Linked DNA regions of Homo sapiens: region 2 is linked to region 1. The links are contacts of gene promoters, found by promoter capture Hi-C in blood cells and fetal thymus (Javierre and others, 2016). All regions are on one chromosome and are shown on one strand. The core of a region is centred on a gene start or on the middle of the fragment in contact, and the rest is flanking DNA. Distances in the headings are between cores, read along the strand shown. Region 1 holds the start of TMEM68 (transmembrane protein 68). Region 2 holds the start of LOC105375850 (a long non-coding RNA gene).

Region 1 (7,099 bases), core at 2,528-5,027:
ATAGCTGTGGTCCCAGCTATTCAGGAGGCTAAGGTAGGAGGATTGCTTGAGCCAGGGAAGTTGAGGCTGCAGTGAGCTGTGATTGTACCATTGCACTCCAGCCTGGGTGACAAAGTGAGACCCAGTCTCAAAATAAACCTCCCAAAACCCAAAAAACAAAACAAAAAAAACACCCAAGAACCACCCCGCCACCACCAAAAAAAAACCAACAAACAAAAAAACTAATGGACTTAGAAGGATTCTTGTTAAAACTGGACCAGACAGGTTGAAGACAAGTCCCAAATGACAAGGCCTAATCAAAAGGAGAGCTCACTCAGAGCCTGTGTAAAGTCTGGTTAAGGAGAGTCTCTGTCAGTACAAAATGTAGAACAATTAGTGGTGGCACTTAATAAGTCATCTAAGGGAGGAGACCACCCCTCATATTGTCTTATGCCCAATTTCTGCCTCCAAAGAAAGAAGTAAAAACTAAAAGGCAGAAATGAAATCCATAAGCAGACAGCCCGGCGCCACACCCTGGGCCTGGTAGTTACTGATCCACCCCTGACCTAATCGGTTATTTGCATAAAAAAGGCACTGGGCCGGGCACAGTGGCTCACGCCTGTAATCCCAGCACTTTGGGAGGCCAAGGCGGGTGGATCAGAGGTCAGGAGACAGAGACCATCCTGGCTAACACAGTGAAACCCCGTCTCTATTAAATACACAAAAAATTAGCTGGACATTGTGGCGGGCGCCTGTATTCCCAGCTACTTGGTGGGCTGAGGCAGGAGAATGGCGTGAACCCAGGGGGTGGAGCTTGCAGTGAGCAGAGATCTCGCCACTGCACTCTGGCCTGGGCAACAAAGCGAGACTCTGTCTCAAAAAAAAAAAAAAAAAAAAAGACACCGTGAAGACCCCTGTCCAGTTCGGTTCCTTTCTAATTAGTGGTGTACGCAGCCCCCAGTCACGTACCCCTTGCTTGCTCAATCAATCACGATCCTCTCATGCAGACCCCCTTAGAGTTGTGAGCCCTTAAAAGGGACAGGAATTGCTCGCTCGGGTTGCTCGGCTCTTGAGACAGGAGTCTTGCCGATGCTCCTGGCCGAATAAACCCCTTCCTTCTTTAACCTGGTGTCTGAGGGGTTTTGTCTGCGGTTCTTCCTGCTACAGTCAATCGATCCAAGGGATTTAGTCAATTCTAGTGGATACTTTTAGTCCTCATTTTGCTTGATATTTTGGCAGCTTTCCAATGTTGATTACACCTTCACTGAAACACTTGGTGACAGTGTACTTAGGCTTGTCTGTTTCCTAGTTAATCCATCTCTTCTTGTCTTTAAAAAGTGCTGGAATTCCTCAAAGGTGGGTCCCCCTCCCCCACCCTTCATTCATGGGTTCAATCACTATCTAAGGCTAAATGGCTCAAGTTTTTAAAACTAGCCCAGACTTCTCCAGCGCTCCAAATCAATATATCTAACTGCTTATACCATCTACTCTTGGTTATCTCATAGATACCCCCAAATCAAAATGTATAAAATCAAACTCATAATCTCTTCTCCGTTGACCCAAAATAAAATTCATGATTCTCCAGTGATCCCTACCTCAGTGAAAGGCAGCAATACAATTCAGTCCCCACCCCCAGCAAGTTTTCTCCCATCTTTCTTTCTTTCTCCATTTCTGCTGCCATTTATCCTAATCCAAGTCACTATAATCTCTTGCCTAAACAATGGTCTTAAGTGGTTCTCTTCCTCCAAACAATCCTCCACACTGCCGCCTGAGTAGTATTTTAAATATGCAAATCTGATCATGTCATTCCCCAGCTTAAGGTTTTCCTATAGTCTACAAAGTCCTGCGGGTTTTGACCCTGCCTACTGTGCACACCCTATCTTCTTTCTTTCCCAGTTTTTTTTCTTTTCTTTCTTTTCTTTTCTTTTTTTTTTTCGGGACAGAGTCTTGCTCTGTCATCCAGGCACGACAATGGCTAACTGCAGCCTGGATCTCCTGGGCTCAAGAGAGCATCTGGCCCAAGCCTCCAGAGTAGCTGGGACTACAAGCATGTGCCACCACAGCTGGCTAATTTTAAAAAAAAATTTCAGTACAGATGAGGTGTTGTTATGTTGCCCAGGCTAGTCTCCAACTTCCGGGCTCAAGTGATCCTCACTCCTCGGCCTCCTAAAGTGGTGGGATTACAGGTGTGCACCACCGTGCCCTCCCTCCCAGCCATTTTGTTCAGTTTCCCAGGCTTTCTTTTGCTCCCTCAAGGCCTTTACTGAGTTCAGCCTGCAGAGAACGCTTTCTCCCACTGAAACTCACCCCAATTTATCCCCCTTAGACCTCTTTCCAAAAGCTACTTCCTCAAAGAAACCTCTGTGACCCTTGGAAAGTTATTTGTTTTCACAGCATCCTGCACTTCTCTCTCATAGCACTTATAACTATAATCAACCAAGTAATAATGTAACCAGTTATCTTAATATTGATCTTCTCTGCTAGGAAGTAAACTCAATACATGTAAGGACAGAATGTCTTGTACCTCAGTGCCTACCAGCATACTTGATATACAAGAGCACAAAAAACATTTTCTGAATGATTGTATGACTACATGCATGCCTGACTAAAAAGGCGACAATACTTTTTACATTAAATTTAACAAGTTTAACTTCTTTTTGCGTTTTCAAATTACTCCACAAAATTACACGAGAAAAATGAATTCCTTCAAACTTAAATCCTACTATATTAAACTATATTAAAAGTCTATCACATAAAATTCACTTCCACAAGGATTTAACTCTAACAAAATAAGCATGTGAGATTAAATATACCCGTTATAGAGATGAAAAAAAGGTTCAAGTGGTTTAACTCACGCATTTAATATAAAGGAAACAATTCCTAGAATTCAAGTCTCTTGGCGGTATTATTCCTGCATACTAGCTATTTTTCATGTGGGGCAATTTTTACCTGATTCAAAGATTTCCCCAAAATAAAGATATCACAAAAACTGATGTAAATATGGTTAAGTCTTTTATCTCAACTAGTTTGAAGTTTTAATTATGTGCATTTGGGCTTAAGTAGATTTTTAGGTTTAAAAAAAGACGTTAACCAAAGCAAGTCACTCAACTTTAAACTTTCACTTTATGACATCATATCTACTAGAGATTTCATTTTACATGTCGCTTTCCCCCAATTTTTAAATGTCCCCTCGATTTACAAATATGAGATGACATATAGCACCTACGACATTTTTTCATAGCAGCCTACCAAGTAGATGTAGTCCTTCACATAAAAATAATGGCAGTGGGCGACCACTCCGTCATGTCTGAGGGTTTTGTTTTTCTTAAACATCACCGTGCCCAAGGGTCAGATGTTCTGGCTGCTTTCAGGGATCAATTACAACCACGTTTGCAATACCTACATTTCTGGGTAATGACTGTGCTAGAACATGAAGAGATTCTCTTTTCTACTTACTCCACAAATGCCCTGGAGCAAAGGCACAGTATCTTACAATCCTCCCGCTCCTCAATGAAGAGAAACATTTCCGCCACGCGGCTCCACTTCTCGCAGCACATTTTACCACTTCGGAGGCAGCTCTGACGTACGCAGCCCGGGTCGCGCCTGCCGGGCCTCCGCTCGGTTACTGGAGACTTAAAACAGGCCTCGCCCGCAAGCCCTGGATGAGGAGATAGAAACTGGCCCGCGGCCGCTCGCGCCGGGAACTAGCCCGGACGCTGCCGCCGGAAGTGGCTCCGAGGGGCCACGGGAAGGGGCGGGACCACGGGCGGTGTCACCCCCATCGCGGCCCGGGCTGCAGCCGCCGCTTGGCTTCTTTCACACGGGTTGCTTCGGAGGAATCCGCCGTGCAAATCTGTCCGCCCCCTTGGCCACTGATCCCCCGAAGAGCTTCTGTCGCCGCTCTAGGGTAAAGGAGAGCTGCCCCTGCCCCTGCCCCCGCCTATCCGAGGTGCGTCGGCCCCCGCGCTTCTCCAGCCCGGCATCGGGTCTGGCGGGACTGGGAGCGGCGGAGGCCGCGCGCGTCCGGTCTCCCAGGAGCCGCCTCGGAATCCCCAGTCTCTTCGCGGGCAGGCTCGGCTTCCCGCCGGCCTCAGTGTTGCGCCCCAGCGCCAGAGTGGCCGGGTGTGGAGATCCTCCCTCCTCTGGGTCAAAGAGCCTGCTCTCCCCGCCCCTCTTCTCCCCTGGCGCTCTAAACCTTCGGTTCGGCGCGTTTCATCCTAATGCATCTGGTGGGGCGAGGCGTCTCTAGCCTCTGTAGAGGCCTCTAGGCTTGCCCAGTGGCTTCGCTGGTTCCGGGACCCAGGTCGAGCCTCCGGTGTAAAAGCCAAGGGGAAGTGTGTGGTGATCCCGAGAGTGTAGGGGGAAAGCCGCGTGGGTAGAGCGTTCGTATCCAGACCGATCAGGCTTGGAATCCTGGTCCTACCTTGTGACCTGGGCAGGCAACTTCACCTTTCTGAGCTTACCTTTGATCACCTGTGAAATGGGGTTGATTAATAGTAACTACTACATGAGGCTGCAGGGAGGACTAAACGAAATGATGTATATTACACCTTTCCTTTGTGCGCTTAATCGTTGGCGTCGGTTTGGACCTTGTAGGCGTTAAGTGCTGTCTCGGTCCCTGGGGTTTGCAGCCTGTAAAACAGGTCTCTGCCTTCAAGTTACTAATTATCTAATAAGAAAAAAGTTCATGTGGGCATAAATAGGATGGAGAAAATGGAAACAGCAGCGTTGCTGGATCTGTTAAAAAGCAGTTAGTATTTGGTGTGTGGTATTCATGGAGGCTGCACGGGCAACTTCTTCAGAGACAAGCTCAGACTTGAAAGTTGGAGCGCTTCGGACGTGGTTGGTGCTACGAAATGCCAAAATAGTATTGGTACTTCTTCAGAACTATATAAAAACTGAGCTAAAATTCATGCATTTTGAATGGTATTTTCAATAGTATTTTGGCCACATTTACTAGTTAGTGGAAATATTCATTTTCAAATGTTTATTCCCACCTCCTTACTGCTGCCCTACTTTGAGGTCGGAGATAGGCTGATTTTGTTGGTTCAAGAAGGTAAGAGTGCTGCACGGTTACAGATATACCAGTATAGATGTGCAGCATTATTGGGATGAGTAGCTGGGTTACGATAATAAGGGTAGAACAGTAATTATGAAACAGAGTGGAAGATTTTAGCTAGAAGTTGGGCATTCTAGGATTAAAGAAAAGTCTTGAAGGGTAATTTGTATCAGAACCTCGAGTTTAAAGCTTGAAATAAAAAAAGTATTAAAGCTAAAAGGATTAGATTTACCAGCTATCTTGACAAATACTAAATTGCAGCTTTATTCATGGTTTGAAGTAGAAGTCCTATTCAGTAAAACAGTGCTGTATCTCTGTTAAACCATTATTAAATATGCAGAAAGGAAACAGGAAAACTTGTTTTTCAGTGACTATATCTTTTAATTGGCATTTTCAGAATGTTCTCAATGTGACTTATATACTAAAAGTAAAATGGAAAAGTACTGGTAATGGGTGTTCAAAATAGATATACTTTATTTATTTATTTATTTATTTTTTTTGAGACAGGATCTTGCTCTGTCACCCAGGCTGTAGTGTAGTGGCGCGATCGCGGCTCACAGCAACCTCTACCTCCCAGGCTCAAGCAATCCTCCTACCTCAGCCCCCCGAGTAGCTGGGGCTACAGGCATGCCACCATGCCTGCCTAATTTTGTGTGTGTGTGTGTGTGTGTGTGTTTTGTAGAGACAAGGTTTTGCCATATTGCCCAGACTGGTCTTGAATTCTTGGGTTCAAGTGATTTGCCTGCCTCAGCCTCCCAAAGTGTTAGGATTATAGGCATGAGCCACTGAGCCCAGCCTAAAATAGATACACTTTCTTAAGGTTTTATTGAAAGCCAAAAAGTTCTCTGTTCTGATTTATTAGTTTTTGAAATACTCTGATTTTAAACATCTGTAAGGTCCATATCCTCACCATCAATGTCAATATGGTGATATTTGAGCTTGTCAACTTTTTTTTTTTTTTGGAGACGGAGATTCATTTTTGTTGCCTAGGCTGGAGTGCAATGGTGCGATCTTGGCTCACCGCAACTTCCGCCTCCTGGGTTCAAGCGATTTTCTGCCTCAGCCTCCTGAGTAGCTGGGTTTACAGGCATGCGCCACCACACCTGGATAATTTTGTATTTTTTGTAGAAACAGGGTTTCTCCACATTGGTCAGGCTGGTCTCGAACTCCCGACCTCAGGTGATCCTCCTGCCGCTGCTTCGCAAAGTGCTGGGATTACAGGCATGAGCCACCGCGCGTGGCCTTGTCTACTTGTTTTTACAAAAGTTACGTGATTTCCAGATAGGGAAATTAAGATACTTTATATGTGATGCATTAGACTGTGTTTATTTTAGATTTTTAGGAGCAGGGGGCTGTAGAAAATAACCTGGAATTTTGAGAACTAAAATATTGTATTTCCCCCAAAACATCTTCTAGTACATAGAGTTCCCCCCTGCCCCCGAGACAGGGTCTTGCTCAGTTGCCCAGGCTGGAGTATAGTGGTGTGATCATTATAGCTTACTGCAGTCTTCACTCCACGGGCTCAAGCAGTCCTCCTGCCTTGGCCTTCCAAGTAGCTGCAACTTACAGGAACGTGCCACCATGCCTGGCGAACCTTTTTTTGGTAGAGACAAGGTCTCAGTATGTTGCCCCCAGGCTGGTCTCAAACTCCTGAACTCAAGCAGTCCTTCCACCTTGGCCTCGAAAACTGTTGGAATCACAGGCGTGAGCCACCCTGGCCCATGTCATTTTTCTTGGATTAAAATAAAGTGATAAGAAGTCAGTTACACCCCCAGGTAAATTCAGGGGGAAGGGGAAGGGCCAGGCAGAAGTATAGGGAAGACAGAAATTGCAATCTTAATATTTTCTTTCTGTCAAGAGAGAAAAAGAGAGATATATCAAAGAAAGTGTGTTGGAAGCCAGACCAGGAGGTAAGATGACTAGATTTTAATTTTAGTTCTTGGCTTTTACTGAATTAATTTAGTAATTTTAAGCAAGCAAACTTGGCTTTCTGTGTTTACTTTTTTTGTTATCTGCACAATTAAGGGGTTGCATTGAGATTTAAAGACACTTTGTCATATT
Region 2 (7,099 bases), core at 2,514-5,013, 790 kb before region 1:
CCTGTGCATTAGTAGTGGGAATGTAAAATGCTGCAGCTGCTATAGAAAATGATGCAGCAATTTCTTAAAAAATTAAATAGAGGATTACCACATGATCCAGCAATTTCATTTCTGGGTAAATACCCAAAAGAAGTGAAATTACTGGTTTGCTAGAGTTATAACAACATACCACAACTGGATAGCTTAAGAAACAGGAATTTATTTTCTCACAATTCCGGTGGCTAGAAGTCCTAGATCAAGGTGTCAGAGAATTTGTGTCTCCTGGGGGTTTGTTTCTCTTTAAAAATTAAGTTAAAACTTTTACCACAATTTTTAACTAAAAATTAAGTTAATTGCTATAGATTTTTGTTTATAGCCTAACTGAGAAACATATTTTTTGCTACTCTCCAAGAAATGCTAAAGCATAATTTGATCAATGGGAAGTCTAATTTTAACCATAAATTCCACTATCAGAAGGGAGCATTGCAAGAACTGACCACTTTACATGCAAGAGGAGCTTTTTGTTTGTTTTGTTTTGCTTTGACATGGACTACCCTAGGGAATTGCTTGCACTTTTCTCTTGGCTGTAAATAAAAACCTGGATCTGTGTTCTTATTTGGATATAATATTTTAAATATAAAAATAAGACAGTTGGGTAATTAATTCATGAGAATATCCCATCCAATTAAACATCCTGACTGGACCATGGCCTTTGTGTGGCCTGCAGAGAGCTTGAAACAGCTTAAAATTTGTATGGTTAGAAGCACCCTTTTACCAGTTTTAGTCAGTTCTGGCTGCTATAACAAAGCATATAGGCTGGGTTGCTTGGAAACCACAGACATTTATTTCCCACAGTTCTGAAAGCTGGAAGTCTGAGACTAGGGTTCCAGCAGAGCTGGGTACTGGCGAGGGCCCTCTTCTGGATTGCAGACCGCTCTCTTCTCATTGTGTCCTCCTATGGCAGAAAGAGAAAGAGAGCTCTCCGGGATTCCTTTCAGAATAGCTTTAATCACATCCATGAGGACTCCACTCTCATGACCTAATCACCTTCCAAAAACCCCACCTCCTAATACCATCACCTTGCGTGTTAGAGCTTCAACATATGAATTTGGTGGGCGACATACACATTCAGTCCATTGCGCAGACTAAATATGAGACAAGTCATTCATTAAGTCAGTCTTTCTAGGACTATACAAAATGTCAAAATAACTAGGAGAAAAGAGAAAACTACTCAAGTGTGACATCAAGGGGAAAACGTTATCACAGAACTTGGTAGTTTCTTACAGACAGGACTGGCGATAGAATCTGCAGGGCCTAGTGAAAAATAAAAATGTGGGACCCCTTGTTCAAAATGCAGGCCCCAAAGTGCCATTGAAAGTACCAAAATATAAAACTTTTTCCTTTATTTTATGGTCTCTGACTTGGCTTGTGAAGATGTTTTTTATTTGCTATTTAATGTTGCTCTAAGTAAAGAAAATTAAAACATTAAATTATTAGCACAAATTTTATTATGCATTTTTATATTGTTTTAAATGCAAATATAAGAACAGCTTACTTGGATGCAGAATCACCAGAATTACACAATTCTCATTTTGTAGTTCATGCATGCATGTGCATTTTGTTCTTACCAGAACAAAGGAAACTACACAAAGTTAACTCAACTGTGTTCATTTCACCTCTTGGTGTGTATGTACTCTACCAACACTCTACCTTAGGCTATGGATAAGTAAGGAAGGATTGAAGGGGAAAAGAACAATATCATCACCCCATGTCATCCTTGTCAGCATAAGTGATGGCTAATACAAAGAAGTAACACCAGTAAAAAAGGATATCAAAGGGTCTGTTGGTCTTAGAAAACCATTTCCTTTTTTCTGCATTCGAAGGAAGTCCTGGTTCAAACAGAGACTGGCCTTTGGGGAGAGTCAATGCAAACCATTTGCTTCTTTCTGCATTCAAAGGAAGTCCTGGCTCAAACAGAGACTAGCCTTTGGGGAGAGTCAATGCCCCAGCTTACTTTGTCCTCACTCTAAGCTTCTCTGAAATCCTACCTGTCGTGGGTCCATGGGAATTCTGGACTCATGAGGCATCTCAAATGCTATATGCTAGTGGCGTAGCAAAAGAGCTTAAAAGAATTTCAAGACAGTGACAGCAGAGCATTAAAAAGCAGCATGAGTCACTCTGAATGTTTTCCCTTTGTGACTACAAATGTCAAACACCAATTTGCACATATTATTGAAATCTATTATATGTGGCCATCTAGGAAGGCTCAAGGTAGGCTAACAAGGCGGTGTTCAATGACATATCACTGTGGGATGGCTGTTTTCACCAATGCATTCACAGAGGGATGCTCGGAATGTTATCGGCTCTGGTATTCTAATATTGCCACATGAGATACTATTGCCATGCTCCTCAGTGGTATTTTCTTCCAAAAATAAGTACATTAATTAAAAATAAGAAAATACACGAATATAGTAAACAAATAATACTTAAGCAGGAGCTGGTAGGAATGAATGGAGGAACACTACCAAATCATCTAACAACAGCAGCACATCTCACTGGCAGAAATTCAGATGTGGAATTATGCTTCAAATGCTACTAATGGACTACGCTAAGGAGATACTGAATCTATGAAGGGTATTGAAATGCATACTTTTCTTCTACATATGATTCTACAGTGAATAAGTCTTATGAGACCTGATGGTTTTATAAAGGGGAGTTCCCCTGCACAAGCTCTCTTGCCTGCCACTATATAAGTAGAAATTACTCTACTTTTAATTACAGTGGCTCACGCCTGTAATCTCAGCACTTTGGGAGGCTGAGGCGGGTGGATCACGAGGTCAGGAGATCAAGACCATTCTGGCTAACACGGTGAAACCCCGTCTCTACTAAAATACCAAAAAAAAAAGTTAGCCAGGCGTGGTGGCGGGCGCCTGTAGTCCCAGCTACTCGGGAGGCTGAGGAAGGAGAATGGCGTGAACCCGGGAGGTGGAGCTTGCAGTGAGCCGAGATTGCACCGCTGCACTTCAGACAGAGCGAGACTCCATCTTAAAAAAAAAAAAAAAAGGAAAAAGAAAAAAAAAAGAAAAATCCCAGTTTTTCAGGCCACACAGAGTTGTTCACTAGCTGCACTCTGGACCATGAATCCAGCCATTCAGAATCACATCTTGGTGGGATTTACTATCTACTCTGGATTGGAATATTGCCATTATCAGCCTCCAATGAAATAATGGACTTAGGCAATCATGGTTTTTAGTTACTAAAACCATAAGATGAAAAGTTGATATGTAAGATCACAGTGGATGAATCAGGCTGATACACTAGGAACTCATTGATCAATCTTAACATTACCAAATATGACATTGTGTGCCTCCTCTCAGAAATACACACCACCACCTGGAAAGTATCAATGCCAAAAAAATTGAATAGAATCTGATTAGGCATCTAGATCTATCTACAATCTAGAAGAGCATGTTAATTGTATATTTGCATGATTTTACACTCATCATACTAATCATCAAAGTCTAGAATGTAGTGAATGCTACATGACAACCTATTTTCTTTCATAAATGAATTGCTGGGAACCAAAAATGTCAGGATGTGGACACCTGTAGATGAAAACAGATTAGAGCTACATATTCACCAGATATAATCAGTGAACCTTGTTTGGATCCTGTATTAGTCTGTTCTGACACTGCTAATAAAGACATACCCAAGACTGGGTAATAATTTATAAAGAAAAAGAGGTTTAATGGACTCACAGTTCCACATGGCTGGGGAGGCCTCACAATGGTGGCGGAAGGCAAAGGAGGACCAAAGGCACATCTTATAAAGTGGCAGGCAAGAGAGCTTGTGCAGGGGAACTCCCCTTTATAAAACCATCAGGTCTCATAAGACTTATTCACTATCAAGAGAAGAGCATGGGAAAGACCCACCCCCATGATTCAATTACCTCCCACAGGGTCCCTCCCATGACGTGTGGGAATTATGGAAGCTACAATTCAAGATGAGATTTGGGTGCAGACACAGCCAAACCATATCAGATCCTGATTCAAACTAAGCAACTGGAAAAAAAAAATGCATGTGACAATTTGAACACTAACTAGATAATCTGATAATATTTAGAACTCATTATTAATAATTCAGATAAGATAATGTTTGCATCTTATGGTTTTAGGAAAAAAAGAATTACCTTATAAAGATAAATACAAAGACATTTATAGCTGCAATTAATTCTATGATGTCTGGAATTCAAAATAATCCTGTGGTGGAGGAAGGGGAGTATGCATCAAATAAGACTGGTTGAAGTCAGATGATGAGCACTTGATGGGGGCAGAGTTATCTATTATTATACGAATACTATTAGACCTTAAACTATTCTCTCTACTTTTGCACCTATTTGAGATTGTCCATAATAAAAACTTTGAAACATAAAAATTTTTGAAAACAGTATTTAAACAATGGTTTCATACCACGAGCTGTAGTCTTTACTCATATTTCATCCCTCTTCATGGCCTCTTCCATGATGCCAGGTGTGTGTTACTCACTTTACGTATGTTCCTTTGTATAAGCCGTTCCTCTGTGCCCTCAAATGTCCAACTTACAGAATCCCCACGTTGCCCACACCCTTTCTTCTGTTTCTTGCATTGAAACAGAGATACTTCAATACAAATAAAACATATTTAACCCATTAATTGTTTTCTCCGGTGAACTTAGTCTTTCAGAAGTTAGTCTTCATTCATCTTTATCTTCCTCTCAAATGTTTAAATAGACAGATGCCAAGTATGTAACACTCTTTGGTATAAATAAATGAAACCATGTAATCATCATTTTCATCTATGTTTTCTGACTTCCTTAAGCAAAGTTCCTCCTCCATGATCTTGTGAAGCTCTTCAAACTTCTGCCAGCATGCTTACTAAGTCTATCGCGAGTGTCATTTTGCATATACCTACACTTATCTGTCTCTTCCTCCAGAAGAAAGTGAGAGCTTTGAAGTTGCCAAGTGTTTCTTATTCCTCCATCTCCAGTTTGACACACACTAAGAATTCAATAAAAATTTTTTTTACGTAAAGGAAGAGAGGTAAGAGAAGCAGGGGCAGGAGGGAGAAAGAAATGTTTAAATAAATACATTAGAAACTGTGAATATTAATAGTTTAAATGTTTGACTCCTATATTTTTCCAATCTTGTTTGACTGGTAAGTCTGCAGGGTTCATACCTTAAACTTGAGTCATGCTTACTACTTATAACCAGCCTCCACTAATTCTCCGATTGTATAAGAAGTCAAGAACTATGAAAATCCACAAATATAATATCTGAAAAATCACAAAGTACAAGGTTAATCACACAAGATTAGGATTGCATCCCAAATTAGAAAATAAAATTGTTAACAAAAAAGCATATTATTTTTGAATAATAAATTAGGTAAAAAATTTTGCAAAGAATCAAAATTTCCATCAAAGAAGAAAGGAGAAAATATGTACATGATTACAAACTTAATCAAAATGGACATTATTTAAAGAGGATTTGGCTTGAAAGCTTCTAGGTATTAGTTTGTTTTAATTCTGTATGTTCAAAAGTTGTGAAATACATAGTTTCTAGGATAGAGTGACCAAATATGTTTTATTTAATCATTCCACATGCCTTCCACCTGTTGGGAATAGACCGTCTCTGTCAGGTCCTGTCTGCTTTAAGTCAACATCACTCTATTCATCAAGCTGACAATCTTAAATGGAAGTCAGTGTTCTATTTGATTTTCTGCCATCATAATGTGCCTTCAGCCACAACCACTTTCAAATTGCTTTTTCCTGGGGAAGATTGTGAGCTTATCATTAAGCTCACAGCCAAAAAGCCTTAATACATCAAATGGAATGGAGAATAAATGTAAAAAATGCACTAACAGAGGATGTCAGATCTCATTTATTTTTCATTTTACTCTTTCAGTACACATATATCTTTTTTATGTTGAAATATTATCTCTAAATCATCCATTCAAAAAGGGATTTTCAAATTAATTTAATTTTCATAACATGTGCAAGCAAACACAATAAGCAAACAAACAAAACAATCTCTCAATGGCCAAGCTGTGCTTTTCCTTTCTCCATGCAACACCTGCAAGCTGCATTGACTTCTGGGAGAACTGATGCACTGTCTCAGAACTTGCAGGTTTTTAACATGAACTTATACCACAGCAACTACAAGAAATTGTTCTGGGGCCTACCAAAAGTTAGGGATACCTGTCGTTTTAGTCTATTTTCTGCTGCTATAACAAAATACCTCAGACTGGGTAATTTATAAAGAAAAGATATTTACTTGGCTCACAGTTCTGGAGGCCAGGAAGTCCAGGATTAAGGGGCTGCATCTGGTGAGGGCCTTCTAGCTGCATCATACCATGACAGAAGGCATCACATGGTGAGAGAGCCCGAAGCGAGAGTGCATGAGTCAGAGAGAGGTTGGGGGCTGGAACTTCATCCATTTTTATCAGGAACCCAGCCTCACAATAATGGCATTAATCCATTCACAAAAACAGAGTCCCTCATGACCTAATCACTTCTTAAAGGTCCCACCTTTCAACACTGTTACAATGGCAATTACATTTCAACATGAGTTTTGGAGGGGACATTAAAACTATAGCACCTGTGCATCAGTTAGGATCTGTTCCTCGGCAAATAATGGCACACAACAGGGCTTAACACACCATTTACTTAATATGGATTCAGAGGCAGGCAGTGCTAGGGTTGGGCAGGCACACCAACAATGCCACCAAGGACTCCACACTTTCACCCTTCCTCATGATCCATAGCGTGTGGGCTTTTGTCCTTGGGCTTTTATTTTTTTTTCTTTTTTGACGGAGTCTCACTCTGTCACCCAGGCTGGAGTGCAGTGGTGCAATCTTGGCTCACTGCAATCTCCGCCTGCCAGGTTCAAGCAATTCCCTTGCCTCAGCCTCCCAAGTAGCTGGGACTACAGGCGTGCGTCACCTCGCCCAGCTAATTTTTGTATTTTTAGTAGAGACGGTGTTTCACCATGTTGGCCAGGATGGTCTCAACATCCTGACCTGTGATCCGCCCACCTCAACCTCCCAAAGTGCTGGGATTACAGGCGTGTGCCACTGCACCCAGCAGG

What was found. Contacts are between HindIII fragments. The CHiCAGO score rates a contact against its expected background, and 5 or more counts as called.
Region 2: a contact is called between a fragment that was not itself captured here and the fragment with the promoter of TMEM68 in region 1, in 1 of 17 cell types (M0 macrophages). The highest score is 5.5, in M0 macrophages.

What each region holds. Positions count from the first base shown.
Region 1 is chr8:55,770,056-55,777,154 of GRCh38, reverse strand. TMEM68 (transmembrane protein 68) reads left to right here and starts at 3,777. Exons shown (of 8, transcript NM_001286657.2): 1 at 3,777-3,886. TGS1 (trimethylguanosine synthase 1) reads right to left here and starts at 3,709. Exons shown (of 13, transcript NM_024831.8): 1 at 3,436-3,709. The coding sequence starts at 3,536. RefSeq lists enhancers at 3,271-3,600, 4,372-4,875 and silencers at 3,741-3,930, 4,021-4,150. The HindIII fragment of the contact is 10,724 bases long and covers 1-5,229 here.
Region 2 is chr8:56,564,475-56,571,573 of GRCh38, reverse strand. LOC105375850 (a long non-coding RNA gene) reads right to left here and starts at 6,327. Exons shown (of 3, transcript XR_928912.3): 1 at 6,287-6,327; 2 at 5,193-5,289; 3 at 4,870-5,014. RefSeq lists a silencer at 6,909-7,084. The HindIII fragment of the contact is 3,502 bases long and covers 2,013-5,514 here.